Linked DNA regions of Homo sapiens: region 1 is linked to region 2. Evidence: promoter capture Hi-C in 16 types of primary human blood cells and fetal thymus (Javierre and others, 2016). All regions are on one chromosome and are shown on one strand. The core of a region is centred on a gene start or on the middle of the fragment in contact, and the rest is flanking DNA. Distances in the headings are between cores, read along the strand shown. Region 1 holds the start of ZNF764 (zinc finger protein 764). Region 2 holds the start of ZNF771 (zinc finger protein 771).

Region 1 (6,700 bases), core at 2,913-5,412, 150 kb before region 2:
TAATCCCAGCTACTCGGGAGGCTGAAGCAGGAGAATTGCTTGAACCAGGGAGGCAGAAGTTGCAGTGAACGGAGATCGCGCCACTGCACTCTAGCCTGGCGACAAAGTGAGACTCTGTCTCAAAAAAAAAAAAAAAAAAAAGACTCCGTCACTGAGTGGGCCTCCTCGAAGGGCCTCCTCTAAGGGACTGGGAAGGGGACGTCAGGCCCTCGGTCGAGAATCTTGGACCGGTTTCCCCTCCCCTGCAGCCTTTGCTGCCACCTGCCTGAGCCCAGGTCAAAGCGGCCGCACCCATCTTAACTACGGGCAAGAGGCGCTGCCAAGGCCGCCTGGGAGGAACAGCAAGAGAAGACTTTTCCAGCAGGAACAAACTAGGTCAGCAACACCGGATCGATATTCAAGCTGTTCAATGCCTTTCTCTAAAATGAAGAGAAGCTGGACTGTCGCCAGCCATCTTTTCTTCTTCTTTTTTTTTTGAGACAAGAATCTCACTCTGTCACCCAGGCTGGAGTGCAGTGGCACGACCTCAGCTCACTTCAACCTCTGCCTCCCGGGTTCACACGCTTCTCCTGCCTCAGCCTCCCAAGTAGCTGGGATTACAGGCGTGTGCCACTATGCCCGGCTAATTTTTGTATTTTTAGTAGAGACGGAGTTTCACCACGTTGGTCAGGCTGGTCTTGAGTTCCTCACCTCAAGTGATCCACCCGCCTCGGCCTCCCAAAGTGCTGGGATTACAGGCGTGAGCCACCGTGCCCAGCCGCCAGCCATCTTTTCTAAGAGCGCTTTCATTTTTCTGGACTCCGGAACCACAGAGTTGCTCGCCGTCCTCTCTAGGCCCCACCCGAAGCTACTACCGGTCGTCGAGGCGTCCGTGGAACCTCCTGCACCCTACTCCCAGGGCAAACCCCCAGCGTCCCTCCGGGAGCCGCGGAGCCACTGGCCGCGCTCATGGCTCCAAGCCAATGAACCAGGGAAGGTGGAAGGGACGGAGACTGGGAAAGTGTCTGAGGACCGAGAGCTCCGCGGAAACGGCCGACTGCCGCTTCCTGGCGCAGTGGGGGTGTCTGCGGTATAGGGATGTTCGCGTCCTGATCCGGGACGCGATGCCGCGACCTGCGGCCACCTAGACGCGCTCAGCGGCGCCCGCCCCACCCGGATCCCCGAAAAGGGAAAGAAGTGGCTCTCCTCACTTATGCGGCAGGTTGAGCTGTTTCCTGAGATTCCCGCCAGATCACCCTCCCTGAAGTTCCCTCCAGGCTCCTCCACAGGGGCTCCCCTGGACCTCCTGTAAAACATTCACAGCCTGGTATACTGATATATTCTGAGTTAAAAACAGAGAAATTGTAGTTTCAGAAGGAGCAATCCGACCTGTTTCTTCTGCATGGAGCATGCCAGAAACCTTACTCTGGGGGAGTATCCTTCTGTACCAGGGCAAGAAAACAGCCCTGAGAAGCCACAAGGGACCAGAATAAACATACGTAACAAAGTCATCTGTATCTTGTACCTGTTTGACAACCCCCTGATACATATTCTAGTTACTCACTGCCCTAGCCAAATTTTCTTTGTCCTGTCATTTCTTTTTTCTTTTATTCTTTCTTTCTTTTATTTTTTATTTTTTATTTTTGAGACCGAGTCTTGCTCTGTCGCCCAGGCTGGAGTGCAGTGGCGCAATCTCGGCTCACTACAACCTCTGCCTCCCGGGTTCAAGCTATTCTCCTGCCTCAGCCTCCCAAGTAGTTGGGACTACAGGCACGCACCACCATGCCTGGCTCATTTTTGTATTTTCAGTAGAGACGGGGTTTCACCATGTTGGCCAGGATGGTCTCGATCTCTTGACCTCGTGATCCGGCCACCTCAGCCTCCCAAAGTGCTGGGATTACAGGCATGAGCCACCGGGCCGGCCCTCTTCTTCTTTTTTTTTTAAACGAAGTCTCTCTCCCGCCCAGGCTGGAGTGTAGTGGCTCAATCTTGGCTCACTGCCACCTCTGCCTCCCAGGTTCAAGTGAGTCTCCTGCCTCAGCCTCCTGAGTAGCTGGGATTACAGGAACCCACCACCACCCCCAGCTACCTTTTTTTTTTTAATTTTTAGTAAGGACGGGGTTTCCTGACCTCAAGTGATCTGCCCACCTCGGCCTCCCAAAGTGCTGGGATTACAGGCATGAGCCACCGCGTCTGCCCACTGAAATTTTATTGTTCTTTGTCTAAAAAATATAAAAGCACCTGGCTTTGGGCACTTTTTCTGACTTCCCTCTCTTGTGAAGATCCCCATGTACATGTAAAACTAATACAATTGGTATAATTTTCTCGTTTGTCCACTGTCAATTCATTTGTTCTTATTTTACTTTAGTTTATTTTTATTTTTATTTTTTGAAGATAGGGTTTCACTAACTTGCCCAGGCTGATCTCATACTCTTGGGCTCAAGGGATCCTCCTGCCTTTGCCTCCCAGTAGTTAGCATTACAGGCGATTCTCAATCTGGGCCTACATTCAACTAAAGAGCCCACCAAGAGCTAAAAGGCAGTTGGAGGCAACTCTGACTCCCATACACAGTAAGGGAGGAGACCATCCCTCATATTGTCTTACGCCCAATTTCTGCCTCCAAAGAAAGAAGAAGTAAAAACTCAAAGGCAGAAATGGAATCCACAGGCAGACAGCCTGGCGCCACACCCTGGGCCTGGTAAAGATCGACCTCTGACCTAATCAGTTTTGTTATTTATAGATTACAGACATTGTATAGAAAAGCACTGTGAAAATCCCTGTCCTGTCCTGTCCTGTTCTAATTACCAGTGCCTGCAGCACCCAGTCACATATCCCCTGCTTGTTCAATGGATCACGACCCTCTCACGGGGACCCCCTTAGAGTTGTGAGCCCTTAAAAGGGACAGGGATTGCTCACTCGGGGAGTCGGTTTTTGAGATGTGAGTCTTGCCGATGCTCCCAGCCGAATAAAACCCTTCCTTCAACTCGGTGTCTGAGGGGTTTTGTCTGTGGCTTGTCCTGCTACAACAGGACATGTATGAAGTCACGTGGAGCACAGAATAGACCATCAGAAAGTGAGAGAGAGGTCTGGGGGAGAGTTGGTGACATTTACTAGATAAAGACCCTAGGGGAAGCAGATTGGGGCAAGAAAGGGATGAGTTGGATTTGAGTAGAGGAGCCTTGGGCCATCTGTCCAGGGGCAGGATGTGAGGGGAGGTGAGAGCCCGGCTGCAGCTACAGGGAGACTGGCAATTGGGAGGCGTCCTGAGCAGCACATGGGAGAAGCTCCTAGAAGAGAGGACCCTCTGACTTTCTCAACCTTACCCTACTCTCCCCACTGCCTCCGCCATCTAGAAACTTCCAGAATTTCAGGCCCCAACAAGCCTACGATGGAGGAGGTTCTCCTGTATCCACTCCTTTTTCTTTCTTTCTTTCTTTTTTATTTTTGAGACAGAGTTTCGCTCTGTCGCCCAGGCTGGAGTGCGGTGAGGCAATCTCGGCTCACTGCAAACTCCGCCTCGCGCGTTCAAGCGATACTCCTGCCTCAGCCTCCCCAGTAGCTGGGATTACAGGTGCACGCCACCACACCTGGCTGTTTTTTTGTGTGTTTTTAGTGGAGACGGGGTTTCACCATGTTGGTGAGGCTGGTCTCGAACTTCTGACCTCAGTTGTTCCGCTGGCCTCGGCCTCCCAAACTGCTGATTACAAGCGTGAGCCACTGCGCCACGCCCACTCCATTGGTTTTTTTACACTCAACATTGGGAAGAGACTGCTGTTGCCCTGTTTCTGAGATAACAAGGACAAAACGAGAGAGTGATGAGCTGGAGCCCGATTATAAAACGGTCCACAAACGAAAACTAATGCCTGAGTTCAGTAAGGCCGGGAGGCCAGCTCACTCCCGCGAGGCGCTCTTTTGTTCGTGCAAACCGGGGCGGAGCTCTCTGCTGCACCGCCTCGCCGGGCCGGGGCGGAGCTCTCTGCTGCACCGCCTCGCCGGGCCGGGGACTAAACATGCGCGGCTAGTTTTCAAGGCCGGCCTCTGTATTAGTCACCGCGGCCATTTTGGATGAGGGTACGGAGAGAACGCGGACTGGAGATACCGGGGGCGTTGTCTTGGGCACGACTGCGTAGGGGCAAAGGTCGAGTACCCGCGCCGCCGCCATTTTTTATGAGGGCATATTCCATTTCTGATTATACACCCGCTGCCATCGGCACCGTTAGTTTCCACGCCCTCTAGTGCGCCCTCGGGGGCCCTAGTAACCTCCCTCCTTCCCTTGGGCCCGGGCCGGGGAGGCTTTCTCGGGCGCAGGAGGTTCCGCAGGCCCAGGCCAGGCCAGGGGAGGCAGCCGATCCGTCGTCGGGGTTGACAGTTACCATGGCGCCGCCTCTGGCCCCGCTCCCTCCCCGGGACCCAAACGGGGCCGGACCCGAGTGGAGGGAGCCGGGGGCTGTGAGCTTCGCGGACGTGGCCGTGTACTTCTGCCGGGAGGAGTGGGGCTGCTTGCGGCCAGCGCAGAGGGCCCTGTACCGGGACGTGATGCGGGAGACCTACGGCCACCTGAGCGCTCTCGGTGAGAGCCCCACCTGCTCGCCTGAGCCCTGCGCCCCCACAGGCCCTGCCGCGCCTCTGGGAGCTGCGCGTGAAGTTGGGGGCCCCGGGGCCGGGCAGGTGGCCTCCCCGCAGCGTGGGGTTTGCGTTCTTCTTCCCTAGGAATCGGAGGCAACAAGCCAGCTCTCATCTCCTGGGTGGAGGAGGAGGCCGAACTGTGGGGTCCGGCTGCCCAGGATCCGGAGGTGGCGAAATGTCAGACACAAACGGACCCAGGTGGAGTATCGGGTGCTCAGTCCCATGGGGACTTCTCTGTTCCTGTCCCATCCCGGTACCCTCTGCCACCTCCAGCTACCTGCTTAGCAGTTTCCTCTCTGAACTGCCTTCTCAACTGCGACGACGAGGCTGAGCCCCTGCGTGGCTCCCAGATGCAGCCTAGAAAGGAGCTGTGATGGGGGCTCTGGCCCTGCCATACCCGCCTCTGAGTCCTCACCTCTGCGTGGTCACTACACTCTGGGGGCTTTTTTTGGTGTTTTTGTTTTAGAGACAGGGTCTCGCTTTGTTGTCTAGGCTGAGTGCAGTGGCGGCATCATAGCTCACTGTAGCCTGGAACTCCCGGGCTTAAGCAGTCCTTCCACCTGGGCCTCCAGAGTAGCTAAGACTGTACAGGTGCTCGCCACGAAGCCTGGGTAATTTTTTTTTTTAGACAGAGTTTTACTCCGTTGCCCAGGCTGGAGTGCAGTGGTGCCATCTCAGTTCACTGCAACCTCCCACTCCCAGGTTCAAGTAATTCTCCTGTATCAACCTCCCAAGTAGCTGGGATTACAGGCGCCCGCCACCAAGCCTGCTTAATTTTTTTTTTTTTTTTTGAGACAGAGTCTTCCTCTGTCGCGCAGGCTGGAGTGCAGTGGCGCCATCTCGGCTCAGTGCAAGCTCCGCCTCCCTGGTTGACGCCATTCTCCCGCCTCAGCCTCCCCAGTAGCTGGGACTACAGGCGCCCGCCACCACGCCCGGCTAATTTTGTTTTTGTGTTTTTAGTAGAGATGGGGTTTCACCATGTTAGCCAGGCTGGTCTCGAACTTCTGACTTTGTGATCTGCCCGCCTCGGCCTCCCAAAGTGCTGGGATTACAGGCGTGAGCCACCGCGCCCAGCCAATTTTTTGTATTTTTAGTAGAGACAGGGTTTCACTATGTCGCCCAGGCTGGTCTTTAACTCCTGGAGCTAAGCGATTCGCCTGCTTCGGCCTTCCAAAGTGACCCACTGCGTCTGGCCTAATTGTTTTAAATTGTTATGTAATATATATATTTTATAGAGGGGGTCTTGGCTCTCGGTGTGTTGCCCAGGCTGGTCCTGAAATCCTAGGCTGATCCTCCTTCTCTACCTCCCAAAGCGCTGGGATTACCGCCTTGAGCCCCCACGCCCAGTCTCTTAAACTCTGTTGACTCTACCTCCACCTCAGGACCCACCCCTGCCGTTCACCTGCAGGCTGGTTCCTTTCTCCCCGTCCGCCCCCCTTTTTTTCTTTCATTTCTTGCCCTCAGCCTTTGCAGAGTATCCAGCCCCACTGAACTTGGCCATGCCCTCCTGGTTCTGCCTTTCTTGGTGCTGTTCCTGCTGCCTGGAACATCCTCAGGTGTCCGTTCCTCCTTCTGGATCAGGCCCAGATGTTCATGTCATCTCTGCCCTTCCCCCACCGTGACATTTCCCCAGCCCCGAGGCGGAATGGGCTGTTCTCTCCCTCCCGGCTCTGTCTGGCTCTGCAGCCGAGGAACAGGTGTCACTCCTCCATCTCCCAGGAGCAGCCGGGGATCCAGCAGGCCTGTCCCTGTCCACGCGGGCTGTGGGATTCAAGGACCAGGATGAGCCGAGCCTGAACTCTCCCCTCTTTATCTCTCAGCAGATTCCAGAAACAAGAAAAAGGAAAGACAAAGGGAAGGGACGGGAGCCCTGGAGAAGCCCGACCCTGTGGCCGCCGGGTCTCCTGGGCTGAAGTCTCCCCAAGCCCCCTCGGCCGGGCCCCCTTATGGTTGGGAGCAGCTGTCCAAGGCACCGCACCGGGGACGCCCCTCCCTCTGTGCCCACCCCCCTGTCCCCCGAGCTGACCAGCGTCATGGCTGCTACGTGTGCGGGAAGAGCTTTGCCTGGCGCTCCACACTGGTGGAGCACGTCTAC
Region 2 (6,233 bases), core at 894-3,393:
GGGCGAAGGGGGCCCGCAACAAACACAACCAGATAGTTATTAGACTATCCAGAGGCCTAAGGAGCTAGTCCCCTCCCCCAGCACCCAGCAGGCCCACTAGGGGGCAGCAGAGCATTCTTTCCCTGGGAACTGGCTCCTGGGCAGGAAGAATCAGAGTCCCGGCCCCTGCAAGCTGGGTCCCTGGGGCCAAAGCCCTCTGCTGGTACTCAGGGCTGCTCAGGCTGGGGGCAGACAGAATCCTCTGGGGTTCTGAGAAGCGGAAACGTATCTGGTGGCAGTTAGGGTCTCCAGGGGGTGAAATTTAACTCATATTCTGATCTCAAAACCTTCAAATACCCTCAGAATAAAAGCCAGACTCCCTGTGTGGCCTGCCAACCACCCCCACTCATCCACACTACAGCATGACCGAACCACCCACCCTCACTGCTGCAGTGCACTACTCACTCGTCTGAGCCTCTATAAGGGCCATTTCTGGCTGGATACGGTGGCTCACACCTATAATCCCAGCACTTTGGGAGGCTGAGGTGGGAGGATCACCTGAACTCAGGAGTTTGAGACCAGTCTGGCCAACATGGCAAAACCCCAACTCTACTGAAAATACAAAAAATTAGCCGGGCGTGGTGGTGCATGCCTGTAATCCCAGCTTCTTGGGAGGCTGAGGTAGGAGAACCACTTGAACCCGGGAGGTGGAGGCTGCAGTGAGCCGAGATCACGCCACTGCACTCCAGCCTGGGCAACAGAGCGAAACTCTGTCTCAAAACAAAACAAAAAAAAATTAGCCAGGTGTAGTGGTGCATGCCTGTAGTCCCAGCTACTTGGGAGGCTGAGGTGGGAGGATCACCTGAGCCCAGGGAAGTCAAGGCTGCAGTGAGCTGTACTGCACTACAGCTTGGGTGACTGAATGAGACCCTGTCTCAAACAATAACAACAGTAATAATAAAAGAGCCATTTCCTCTGACTGGGTCCATCACCCCACTTCTGACCCCAGACTCCTACTAGTCTCACATAAGCCATCCTTTTACTTTGAGACCTGTGGCCAGTTACCAAACTGCCCTGGGCCTCAGTCTCCTCATCTGTAAAATGGAATAAATGCTACCGACATCATAGAATCGAGGTGCTTAGAACAGTGCCTGGCACATAGAAAATGCTAGGCAAGGGTTAGCTATTGTTACTGTTGCTGTTGAACTAACCTGACCTTTCCCCAACCTCTAAATCTGAGTTAAGTTCCCACTTCTAGGCTTCATCATCCCCCTGTACCTGCAGCCATCACACGGGATTCTAACTGTGTGGTTACCCTTCAGTCTAACATCAAGCTCCATGGGGGATCCAAGGACGGAGTTTAATCTCCTGCACCCAGCAGGAAGCCTGGGACAGTAGGCGTGACTTTTGTATGATGGAAGCCCAGGCAGTAGGGCAGAAGGATGGGCCAATCCTGAGGTTTTAGATCCGAGATTCTGGGAAAAGTAGGGGCAAGATCCCTGGCTTCTATCTGAGGGAGGCTGGGCCTGGACCAGGTTTGGGGACAGTGTGCCCCAGGGTGTGTGTGACACATACCTCCTTGTTGTCCATGGGGATCTTGAGTTTCACCACCTCATACTTCTCCTCACCCTCATCCTCCTCACCCTTCACCAGCAGCACCATCTCCTCCTGCATCTCTTCCTCCTCCTCTTCCTCTGCCTGCTGTTCGCCAGGCATCTTGGTGTCCTGAGGCGGGGAGCTGGATCAGAAGCTCAGGACCCGCCCCCCCCCACCCCCCCCCCCGCCCACCGTGGCCCTGGCCCAGCAAGGCAGTGCAGCCGTGGCTTCTCCCGCCCTGCCCTGGTCTCCGAATCTGGTCCTCTCCCGTCCACCCCAGCCCGGCCCCACGCTCTGGCACAGCCCCGGGACCAGCTCCGAGGGCTCGCGTTCACCCCACTCATCCCAGCATTCAAGGCCTTGAACAGTTCGAATCTCCAGCCCCCGCAAGTCGCCACCATCCTTGCGCTGAGTCACTCCCCAGGGCCCGGGTCGGCGACCTGGAGCTCTGGGGCACGGGCTGGAGGCGGGATCGGGGCGGAAACCCCGGGGAGGGGGTGCGCACTCACCAGCCGAAGGTTCGGCACTCGCGGTGCCCCAGGCCTGGGCGCCGGGCGGCTGGGCACTCAGCGAGGCCGCGGCTCCGGGGGCGGGGAGGGGGCGGGACCGCAGGGACGGCCGGTCATTGGTCCGAACATATAGCCCCACCCCCTGGGGCGGAGCCCGAAGGACCCAGGCGTCCGGCCCAAACGGCTCGGAGAGGGCGGCGAGCTCAGACTTGGCGTCCTCCGCAGTCCCCCGACTCCCAAGCACCTGGAGCCGCCCCAGCCCGGCGTTCAAGGTCCTTGCCGCCGAGTTCCAACCTAACCTCGCGGCCCGTCTCCTGGGGCCGGCTTGGAGGTCTCCGCTGCGCCCAGTGCCTCTGCTCCGCCCGAAATAGGCCACGTGCGCTCCCGCCCCGGCCTGGGCCTCTCCCTGGCGCCCCGCCTGGAGGGCGGACCCTGTTGCCTCCTCACTTCTTCCATTCCCTCTTTATCTCCTCTGCCGTCTTTTCTCCATCTTTCTCGGCTTCGCCTATTCCGCTGGCCTCTGGGATATCCTTGAATACATCCTAACCAATTCAACATCCACCCAAGCTACCGCTGTCGCGTCATGCGTGGGGTGCTTACCATGCGCCAGCGCTGTTCAGCGTCTTACATACCTGGTCTCATTTGATCCGCATAACGATGGGTCCTGATCCATTTTACAGATGAGCTCACTGAAGTTCAGGGAGGTAAACTGATTTGCCTAAGTTACACGATAAGGATGTCATAGCATCCCTGACAATCAGTAGCCTAGGTGAACAACAGCCCAAAGCTAAATCCAGTCCACAGGGGTACCTTGTTTGGCCCTTAGGGTATTTTTACTTTTAAAAAATCTTTTCGGACGGGCACGGCGGCTCACGCCTGTAATCCCAGCACTTTAGGAGGCCGAGGCGGGCGGATCACGAGGTCAGGAGATAGAGACCATCCTGGCTAACACGGTGAAACCCCGACTCTACTAAACAAAATACAAAAAATTAGCTGGGCGTGGTGGCGGGCACCTGTAGTGCCAGCTACTCGGGAGGCTGAGACAGGAGAATGGCGTGAACCCGGGAGGCGAGCTTGCAGTTAGCCGAGATCGCGCCACTGCGCTCCAGCCTGGGCGACAGAGCGAGACTCCGTCTCAAAAAAAAAAAAAAAAAAAAAAAAAAAAAATCGTTTCAAAGCCGGGCGCGGTGGCTCATGCCTGTAATCCCAGCACTTTGGGAGGCGGAGGCCGGTGGATCACTTGAGGTCAGGATTTCGAGACCAGCCTAACCAACATGGTGAAACCCCGTCTCTACTAAAAATACAAAAATTAGCCAAGCTTGGTGGTGCATGCCTGTAATCCCAGCTACTCGAGAGGCTGAGGCACGAGAATTGCTTGAACTGGGGAGGCAGTGGTTGCAGTGAGCCGAGATCATGCCATTGGTCTCCAGCCTAGGCAACAAGAGCGAAACTCCGTCTCAAGAAAAAAAAAATTAAATTGGGATATTTCATATAAAAATAGATTTTTTTTTAGTGGAATAAACAAATGCCACTTCCTTTGAAAAACAGCCACTTCCCTTGAAAAAGCAGATATCTAATTTTCCCATTTTATGAATGGGGCAACTAAGATTCAGAAATCATGAAGGAAAACAGAAATAACATTCAGTAAGTGCTTACAAGTTCTATGTTGTCTCTTTACAACAGCCCTGTTGGGATCAATAATATCTCCATTGGACAAAAGAAGAAACGGAAGCTTAGACAAGTTAAGTAATTTGCTCAAAGTCACACAGCTGGCAAGCAGCAGATTCAAAGCTTGTGCTCTTCTATTGCACCAAATTACCTCTCAGGAATGAAGTTATAAAACTGGCTCTTTCCCAGAGCTGGGAGAAGGGGTCAAATGCCTGGATACTCACACACAGGATCCCCAAAAGCCACTTTGCATTCATTCTCTGAGTTTTTTTTTTTTTTTTTTTTTTTTTTTGAGATGGAGTCTTGCTCTGTCGCCCAGGTTGGAGTGCAATAGCACAGTCTAGGCTCACTGCAACCTCCGCTTCCCAGGTTCAAGTGATTCTCCTGCCTCAGCCTCCCAAGTAGCTAGGATTACAGGCACACACCACCACACCGGGCTATTTTTGTATTTTTTGTAGAGACGGGGTTTCACCATCTTGGCCAGGCTGGTCTCAAACCCCTGACCTCGTGATCCACCCACCTTGGCCTCCCAAAGTGCTGGAATTACAGGCTTGAGCCACCACGCCTGGCCTCTCTGGGTATTTATTGAGTCCTATATACCCGTCACCCTTCTAGGTATGGGGGATGTAGTAGTGAACAAAACAGATAAAAATAGTGGCTCTTGTGACACTACTAAGGGTGCAAACAAATGTACACATGTAAAGAGGAAGATAATATCAGATAATGATAGGTGCAACGGGGCAAATCTGACAAGATGATCCAACAGGGAGCAGCTATGGTAACAGGGGCTTCTTTAATGCAGGCAGGGAAGGTGTCTCAGGATACAATTTTTTTTTTTTTTTTGAGATGGAGTCTCATTCTATCACCCAGGCTGGAGTGCAGTGGCATGATCTCAGCTCACTGCAACCTCCACCTCCCGGGTTCAAGGGATTCTCCTGCCTCAGCCTCCCGAGTAGCTGAGATTACAGGTGCGCGCCATACACTCAGCTAATTTTTTTTTTTTTTTGAGGCGGAGTCTTGCTCCGTCTCCCAGGCTGGAGTGCAGTGGTGCGATCTCGGCTCACCGCAAGCTCTGCCTCCCAGGTTCACACCATTCTCCTGCCTCAGCCTCCCAAGTAGCTGGGACTATAGGCGCCCACCACCACGCCCAGCTAATTTTTTTTGTATTTTTAGTAGAGACAGGGTTTCACCGTGTTAGCCAGGCTGGTCTTGAACTCCTGACCTCAAGTGATCTGCCTGCCTTGGCCTCCCAAAGTGCTGGGATTACAGGAATGAGCCACCATGCCCAGCCTGGATACAATATTTTGTTTGTTTGTTTGAGACAGAGTCTCCAGCTGTCGCCCTGGCTGGTGGACAGTGGCGCAATCTTGGCTCACTGCAACCTCTGCCTCCCGGGTTCAATTCTCCTGCCTCAGCCTCCCGAGTAGCTATGATTACAGGTGCCTGCCACCATGCCTGGCTAATTTTTTGTATTTTCAGTAGAGAAGGGGGTTTCACTATGTGAGCCAGGCTGGTCTCGAACTCCTGACCTCAAGTGATCCACCTGCTTCGGCCTCCCAAACTGCTGAGATTATAGGCGTGAGCCACCGCGCCCGGCCTGGATACAATATTTGAGATGAACCTTGAATGATGAGAAAGGGTTAGCCATTTGAAAATCTGGAAGAAGAGTGTTTGAGACTGAACTGCAGAGGCCTTGAGGCAGAAGCTTGTGTGTTTGAGGAATAGGAAGAAGACTTGTGTTGCTGGATCTGAGCATCCAAGGGAGTGAACAAGGGGAAATGTAGCAAGGGAGATGGAGGAGAGGTAGGCAGAGGGTAAACTTGGCCAGAACCCAACCTCTAGCGAAAGCAAAGCATCTCGCTCTGATTAAGAGAGAATCAGTGAGGAGACTCAGCCAGGAGCCTGTCTCTGGCAGTGAAAGTCCCTACTGGAAGGAGCCTCCTGCTGTTTTAAATAGGAACTTGGAAAAAGAAGGTAAAGGGCTCCATCGATTTGCCCTGCAACCATGTACAGGTATCTACTTGCAATACGATCTAGTTCATGTTCTTGAGGATCTCATAGTCTAGTAAAGAAGTTTTTGGGCCATGCGCGGTGGTCACACCTATAATCGCAGCACTTTGGGAGGCTGAGGCAGGTGGATCACCTGAGGTCAGGAGTTCGAGACCAGCCTGGCCAACACCCCATCTCTACTAAAAATACAAAAATTAGCCTAGTGTGGTAGCGCATGTCTATAGTCCCAGCTACTTGGGAGGCTGAGGCAGGAGAATTGCTTAAACTCTGTCTCAAAAAAAAAAAAAAATAAGTTTTTGGGGCCAGGAGCAATGGCCCATACCTGTAATACCAACACTTTGGGAGTCCAAAGTGGGTAGTCGCTTGAGGTCAGGAGTTCAAGACCAGTCTGGCCAACATGGCGAAACCCTGTCTTTACTAAAAATACAAAAATTAGCTGGGCATGGTGGCACACGCCTGTAATCCCAGCTA

What was found. The method cuts DNA at HindIII sites, captures the fragments that hold promoters and counts their contacts. A CHiCAGO score of 5 or more calls a contact.
Region 1: a contact is called between the fragment with the promoter of ZNF764 here and the fragment with the promoter of ZNF771 in region 2, in 2 of 17 cell types (megakaryocytes and fetal thymus). The highest score is 5.2, in megakaryocytes.

The regions. Positions count from the first base shown.
Region 1 is chr16:30,555,836-30,562,535 of GRCh38, reverse strand. It overlaps ZNF764 (zinc finger protein 764), which reads left to right and starts at 4,162. Exons shown (of 3, transcript NM_001172679.2): 1 at 4,162-4,549; 2 at 4,690-4,803; 3 at 6,429-6,700. The coding sequence starts at 4,354. RefSeq lists enhancers at 724-873, 894-1,093, 4,033-4,172, 4,713-5,274. The HindIII fragment of the contact is 20,167 bases long and covers 1-6,700 here.
Region 2 is chr16:30,403,516-30,409,748 of GRCh38, reverse strand. It overlaps ZNF771 (zinc finger protein 771), which reads right to left and starts at 2,143. Exons shown (of 3, transcript NM_001142305.2): 1 at 2,085-2,143; 2 at 1,555-1,704. The coding sequence starts at 1,695. RefSeq lists silencers at 84-173, 2,008-2,217, 2,240-2,419. The HindIII fragment of the contact is 8,204 bases long and covers 1-3,404 here.